Regions from separate parts of the Homo sapiens genome. Here region 1 is linked to region 2. Evidence: promoter capture Hi-C in 16 types of primary human blood cells and fetal thymus (Javierre and others, 2016). All regions are on one chromosome and are shown on one strand. The core of a region is centred on a gene start or on the middle of the fragment in contact, and the rest is flanking DNA. Distances in the headings are between cores, read along the strand shown. Region 1 overlaps SYT2 (synaptotagmin 2). Region 2 holds the start of LGR6 (leucine rich repeat containing G protein-coupled receptor 6).

Region 1 (3,670 bases), core at 525-3,024, 480 kb before region 2:
AGCAACAGTGAGACATCCAACTGGCTGCAGGGGTGGAAAGGCGGTGGCCTTAGTGAGACTGGCCTTTGAAGTGAGTTGGGTTGGGATTGAACCTGGCTTGTCAATTACTAGTGAGATGACTAGAAGGACAAGTTATCAGTTTCCTCATCTGTAAAATAGACATAGTAACGCCTGCCTAAACTGGCTGTGAGGATTAAATGGAAAGATGCAAAGTGTTTAGCACAGTGTAATGCACCTAACACATGGTAAATGCTCAAAAGAGGTTAGGAATGATTACTATTCAAGCTAGGGTCAGATGACAGGTGGCTTGACCCTAAGCTGGAGAGCTTTAATTTGGTCCTCTAGGTGTTGTTTCAGGATTATTAGCCTGGCTGCTTGGACCGGTTAGAGGAAATGGGGTAAGGTGGAAGGGAACCAGCCAGCAGATCATGTGAGAAATCCATTTGGGTATCAGTGAATGAGTATGTCCCATTCTTGAGGACTGGGATTCTTCCTGCTCGGTGTCCAGGACCTCTAGTGATAACATTTGCAAGTGCACATATCCACATGTGGGTTAGAAACAGAAAAGCCCAGCCTTTCCCTGAGTCCCTGAAGATCTCAGAGTGACTCCAGCCCCTTGGGAAAGACTTTGCTGAGCTCCCAACTCAACTGTGGTCCCTGGTCAAATACTTTCATGGCTGTCTATGCTTTGCATTAATAGTCTTCACATAATTTTCAATTGTGTATATATATTATATAATTATTATAATATATATTAATTATATATATAATTATTTAGTGTGTGTCTCTCCCACAAGACTGTAAGCTCAATGAGAGCAGGGCCTATTAGTGTGTTTGGCACACACTTACTTGAAAGTAATTTGTTAAATGAATGACTGCACGTTAAATATATGGTCATACAGACTCATTCATGTGCCCAACGTGCTCAGTATTCACCACATCTTATTTTTCCTTAGTAGACATCCTAGTGCACATATGCAGACATCATATGGTCACACATACACAGTCCTCATTCAACAGTTAACTACTGGGCCCTCCTGTGCACCCAGCACTGTTCAGGGGATGCTGTAATAAACAAGAAAGCCATGGCCCTCTCTGAGCACCTGGCATTTTCTTGGGAGGCATGGACAGACAATAAACAAGGTGAGTTCTGAACAAGATAACTTCAGATGGTAGTAAGTGCTCTGAAGGAGGCGAAGCAGGCTGAGATCATGACATTGAGATTATTGGGGTGGTGCTCAGGGCAGAGCATGCTGGGCAGTGGGGGAGGGGGCCGGCCAGTCTGAGGGTGTCTGGAGGGGACATGTGGGAGGCCAGTGTGACCAGAGCAGTGTGTGAAGGTGAGAGAGCAGAGCTGCGGCCAGTGAAGTGGGAGGCCTGGACTGCTGAGGTCAGATTAAACAGTAGGGGTTTCATACCAAGTGCAATGGGAGTCCTTGGAAAATTTTAAGCTGAGGAGAGATGATTTGGTTTACCATTTGAAAAGAATCCTTAGGCTGGTAACAGATCATACTCCCATCAGTTATACAGATATGGATGAGTGATTGAACACACATAATCTCACTAAGTACTTGCAGCCATTTATCAAAGCTCATATTTCTATATTCACACATGTGTACATATCACATCATATTACACAGACTTTCACATCCTTCCACACAGATGTTCATATGCTCAGATGGACCATGCTAACACTGGGGTATATGCATAATTAAAAACACCTAGGCCAGGCGCGGTGGCTCATGCCTGTAATCCCAGCACTTTGGGAAGCTGAGGTGGGCGGATTAACTGAGGTCAGGAGTTCGAGACCAGCCTGGCCAATATGGCAAAACCCTGCCTCTGCTAAAAATACAAAAATTAGCTGCACGTGGTGGTACACGCCTGTAATCCCAGCTACTCAGGAGGCTGAGGCACGAGAATTGCTTGAACCCAGGAGGCGGAGGTTGCAGCGACACAAGATCACACCACCGCACTCCAGCCCAGGTGACAGAGTGAGACTCTGTCTCAAAAAATAAAATAAAACAAATAAATATACCTGTGCTCTCCCATTGTTCAGAAATTCACACACATACCCACACAAGAATACTCACACATTAAAAAAAATACACATTAACCTGCCACATAGACCTTCATGTATTACACACAAATATCACATGTATGTAACGGCAGGTTCCCATATCCACTCCTACCCAGAACCAGCCAACTGTCACTGCCCATCAGCCAGGCAATCTCATTCAGGCTTCTAATGGCAAATGAGATCAGAACTCTGTGAGGAATTGTCTTCTCTGTTGAGCATAAATGTGCTAAATAAATCTCCCTGCCTCGAATAAATCTTGTACAGATGTAGAAAATGCATTAAAGGCTGAGAAACTAGAGGTGGCTGGAGACAGCCATGGGAACAGAGTAGTAAATCTGCAAGGGGTGTGCCGGCAGCTGGGGCTGTCCAGGGCAAGGAAAGGAGCTGGGTGTGCGGGCAAGTCTTCCTGGAGGTCACCCCAAGGTAACTATGGCCTCATTCCCTGGGTAATGTGTCCCTTCAACTGGAGCTGTTGGGACCTAAGGATGTGGGTGAGCATCGATCTTCGTGACACAGAAACATCCATCTCATTGGATCCATTCAGGGAGGAAAAGTACTTGTTGAGTCAAAACTCACTCCAAACTTTTCAGAGTATGGACACAGAACATTGATACATTTTTGGTTTGTTTGGGCCTGATTTAGATGTGAATTACTGATTCTTTCCTGCAATGTAACTGAGGGTCCAGGCCCATGATTTTATTATATCGTTGGGTCCATTTTCACGTACCTTTTAACTTACATGTTCCAACGCTGAAGCTGACCTGCCACACAGGGTCTTGCTGTTTATTCTAGAAGACTTAATAGTACTTATAGTTCAGACATTTTCCCCTTTTCAGATGATTTATTAAAATGTTCAGTAAACCCAAGCCCACCATCTACACTTGGAGGATGGCTAATATGTTATTTTCTTTTGTTTCCCATCTCCAAGATTTTCTTATAACACCATCCATAAGCCCAGATTTCTGGGCAAGAAATGAAAAATATTTTCATTTAGTTTACACACTAGCAAACGTTTGGATATTGTGAGACAGCTGGAGCCTGTACTGCCCTCCCAGCTGCTAGTTTGGTTATTTCGGCTCTACATTTTTAAGACTTTTTCTTTAGTTTTCTGCAGTTTTCCTGTGATATGTCTAGACATGACTTTCTTTTTATTTTTTGCTGCTTGGGATTTGTTGGGTTTCTTGAATCTGTGGATTGATATATTTTATCAGGTCTGGGTATCTTCTGCCTTTCTCTCCTCAAGTGTTGCCTTAGCCTCTCTCTCTCTCTCCCTCCCTCCCTCTCTCATTTCCCACCTGTAATTCCAATGAAATGTCTGTTTTCTTCTCATCCTCTTTTACCCTTTATTCTGCTTCTGCCAAGTTTTAACCACTGTGTTCTGGATTATTTCTTCTGATCTGCTTTCCAGTTCATTAATGTCTTCTTCAGCTGTGTTAAACTTGAGATTATATCTGTTCATTGAACTTGTATTTTCAGTTATTGTATGTAAATACAATAACATACAATCTTACCATATTAGTCTGCACCAGCCGCTAAAATGAAATGCCATAGACTGGGTGTCTTAAACAACAGACCTTTATTTCTCACAGTTCC
Region 2 (3,606 bases), core at 1,008-3,507:
GGGGCTTTCTCAATCCCCAGGAAGACACAGACCAGCTCAGAAAACCCCACCTCCACTGAACCCAAATGCAGACTTCACAGCTCCGAGGGAATTGTGGCAAGCTAGTGGGAAAAACTTCTGCCAGCATGGATGGTAGGATGCTTGAATTCCAAAGGTGACAGTGTACCTCCTTCCCCAAGTCCTTCTAGAAAAAGGGTCATTAACCAGTCTAGGAAGACTTAATGCTGGGAAAGGAAGCTCTGGAAGGCCTTATCTCCCCTGCCCCTTCAACCCAGGCAAGGGACCTTCCTTCAGCTCACCCAGAGAAAGGCTCCACAGAAGTCACATCTAAACTCTTTAGCCACAGGACCCTGTCTTCAAATGAACCAATGTCACATACTCCCAGGATAGAAAACTGCTGAAAGAGGGGCTGGCCTGTGTGTAGGGTGGGGCCGGAGCCTGCCCTGCTTTGCCAGATGCTGAGCGCCCAGGCTCTGTGCAGTTGGTACCTTTATTCCCATGATTGCCTCTGCCGTCACCTACTGCACTGTGAAGGATTCCATTTGTCCTTCTAGATGGACATTATTTTTCTCTTCCCACTCCCTTACCTGGCCCACAGCCTGTGCCTTTTGGAGTGGAGGGGGACATCCCAACCTGGGGACAGGGACATTTGGAGAGGAGCCCCATGAAGAGTTGCCCTCTGGGACCCTCTACCTCCCACCAGGACACTCCCAACACTGAGCATCTTTAGTTCCACAAATTCTTGCTAGGCCCCTATAAAGATTCACCCAGCCTCCTCTTCCTCTAAGCTCCCATGTGCTGGAACCCCAAAGCCATAAGGAGCCTCTCTCAGGCCAGAAGGAACTCTGGGATCCTAGCCCTCAGCAGAAGGCCCCACCAGGCTTTCCCACCTGCTCCCAGCTCCTCTGAGGAAGTTGATAGAGCCTGCAGAGCTGGGCTGGAGGAGGTTTCCTTGCCCCAGAGCGGGGCTGGGGGTGCAGGTGGGTGGCCTGGAATGTGCTCTCTCACCCTCCTCCTGCCCAGGTGGTGAGCAGCCAGAGCCCCCAGCCCTCCAGCTCTGAGGGGAAGCTCCCATGAGCCAGACAGACAGGACAGCTGCCCCCAGTAGGGTCCCCTTCACGCGCCATCTCACCCCAACTCAGACGCTAAAAATGGTTCTCTGGTTTTCAGCCTCGGCGCCTGCCCACAAATTAGTGTCTCCAACACAGCCTCTTGGGACATGACTTTAGGGAGGCCCCTGGGGGAGCCAGGAGGCCCCAGTGAAGGGAGATGGTGCTGGCAGAGTCCCTTTCTGAGGAGACAAGAGTGGATAAGGCCCCCCTCCCAGCTTCTAGGAAACCCGCCCCCCCCGCCCCCACGAAGGCCACCCAGCCTCAGTGTGACAGCCCTGTTGTCCTCACCATGGCAGAAGAACAGACATTATTTCCACCCTACTGGGGCACGCTCCCCTCACCTCCACCTCCAGTTCTGTCAGCTTTACCCTCAGCCACCATCCCGGGCACTGCTCTGCTAGAAGAGAATGCAGCAACAGGAGATGGAGCAGCCAGCCCCGCGCCCTCCCGCTCAGGGTCCAGAACCCACCTCGCCAAGCCTGGGCTCCCATAGTCAGCCCACAAGCACGGAGGCCAATGGGGAAGCCAAGTCAGGGAAGCCCGGTCTCCCTGCTCGCCTGGTATTTAGTCTCAGACTCTTCTCCCCTCCCCAGTCCCGCAACGGTCAACTTGGAAGGGGGCAAACCCTCTCCGGGATGCCCATGCCCCAGGGCACCAAGCAAGCAGGTGCCCTGCTGAGGCCGGGACTGGGCGCTAGCCAGCAGCCCGCAGGACCAGGCGGGGACAGGCGGGCAGTACTCACAGGTAAGCCGTCAGGGGGTCCAGGTCCCCCGGAACGGCGGACAGCCCGAGCTCAGAGCAGTCGGCAGACAGCATGATGCCGTCCTCCTGGCAGTGGCAGGGGGCCGGGCAGGCGGTGGGCCCCGGGCCGGGCTGGGGGGCGCCGCCGGCCCTCCGGGAAGCGCACAGCGCGGCGCAAAGCCATAGCGCCCGGAGCCCCGGCGGGCTGGGCATCTCGGCGGTCGGGCTACTGGGGCACCTGGCGGCCGGGCGCGGACGCACGGCGCGATGGCCGCAGCTGCTTCCTCCCGGTCCCGGCGGGCTGCACCGTCGGTGGGGACCGCCCCAGGGGCTCTATTGGGCGGCGGCGGCGGCGGTGGGAGCGCCGGGACGGTGCAGTCAGAGAGGGGCAGGCATTGTTGAGTGATCTTCGTTATTCAGTTTCACAGGCTGGGCTTGGCAAGGGAGGGAGACCCAGCCGGAGGAGGAGTCAAGGAAACTTTCTACACTGCGGCTCGCTCCTCTTCCCTCCTTCCTTCGGAGCTGGCAGGAATTTCATCCAGGAAAGAAAAAAAAAAAAGGAAGAAAGCAAAGAAACCCAAGCGAGCAAAGCTCAGCCCGTCAGAGACCTGCATTTGTTTGGATAGGGTGTCCCAGGGCCTTGGCCGCAGGGCTGGGGACCCTCTTGCCTTTGGGGACAGCCACGAGGTCACATGGGACCCAGAGGAGGTCTCTGAAAGAGGCCTTGGGGCTCCCATTGCCCCTCATGCCTCCACCACGTTTCACACTGCAGGAAACTGAGACCCAAGAGGCAAAATGATTTGTTCAAGGTGACACAGCTGATGGGACATCCCCAGAGCTGGAACTCGTCCACCCTCCCTGGCCTGTCTGCTAGGACAGGAGAGAGGGGAGTGAGGGGCTACCCTGGAAGAGGCCAGGCTGCGGAGGGTTCCACTGCAGGCTGGGATGACCCGACGGTGGGCAACCAGGAGCAGTCTCCTCACTGAGAGGCCGGGCCTTGACTCCAAAGAAACGGGTGTGGAGTTACACCCGCTGAGTGCACCCTGGGTGGAAATGCACTCCTGCAGCCTCTGTCAGGTTTACGGCCTGGGGACCACCTTGATCCCTGCTCCCAGGACCTCGGGAGTCTGAGGGACTGTGGGCAGCTCAGCTGGTTGTCAGAGCCCACCTCAAAGTAAGCGGATTGGTGCCACCTGGAGGCCGGGTGCTGCACCTGCAGCTCAGCCACCCTGAGGCTGGAATCCCACCAAGTGGCTGACCTGGGCCGGCCCCAGAGCCCTGGAGAGCAAAGGGCATGGTGGTTAAAACTGAGGTCAATCCCTGTTCTCTCCTTAGACCATAGTGAGCTGGCTGTGCTTCCTTCATGCAGCCTCTTGCTCTCTCTGGTCTCTCCCATGCTGAGCCAAGCCCCCGCGCAGAGCTAGAGCAGGCTGTGGGCCCCCCTCCTTCCTTTTTTTGCCCTATCTCCCCATGGTCCAGCCAGAGGGTATACTAGAAACCTGGGACCTCAGAGGCATCCAGGATTTCTTCCACCCTGTCTTTCCACATGCCAGGATCCTCTCATCAACACCTCTCCACTCTCCCAATAACCTCCCAGGGCTAGAGGGGCTGCATAGCTGGACCAAGAAATGAGCAGACCTTGACCCTAGGCCTCCAGTTGGTGCCATGGCGCTGAAAGTAGAAGACGAGCCTCCGCTCTCGCTCTCCCTCTCCCTCTCCCCTCTTTCCACGGTCTCCCTCTGATGCCGAGCCG

Evidence for each region. Contacts are between HindIII fragments. The CHiCAGO score rates a contact against its expected background, and 5 or more counts as called.
Region 1: a fragment that was not itself captured here is called in contact with the fragment with the promoter of LGR6 in region 2 in 3 of 17 cell types (M0 macrophages, M1 macrophages and M2 macrophages); the score reaches 7.8 in M0 macrophages.

What each region holds. Positions count from the first base shown.
Region 1 is chr1:202,672,456-202,676,125 of GRCh38, reverse strand. The region is part of intron 1 of SYT2 (synaptotagmin 2); the gene reads left to right. Among named protein-coding and RNA genes, the nearest start is that of SYT2, 36 kb to the left of the region's middle. The HindIII fragment of the contact is 4,323 bases long and covers 1-3,670 here.
Region 2 is chr1:202,192,450-202,196,055 of GRCh38, reverse strand. It overlaps LGR6 (leucine rich repeat containing G protein-coupled receptor 6), which reads right to left and starts at 2,257. Exons shown (of 18, transcript NM_001017403.2): 1 at 1,855-2,257. The coding sequence starts at 2,066. RefSeq lists enhancers at 3,124-3,173, 2,868-3,606. The HindIII fragment of the contact is 23,199 bases long and covers 1-3,606 here.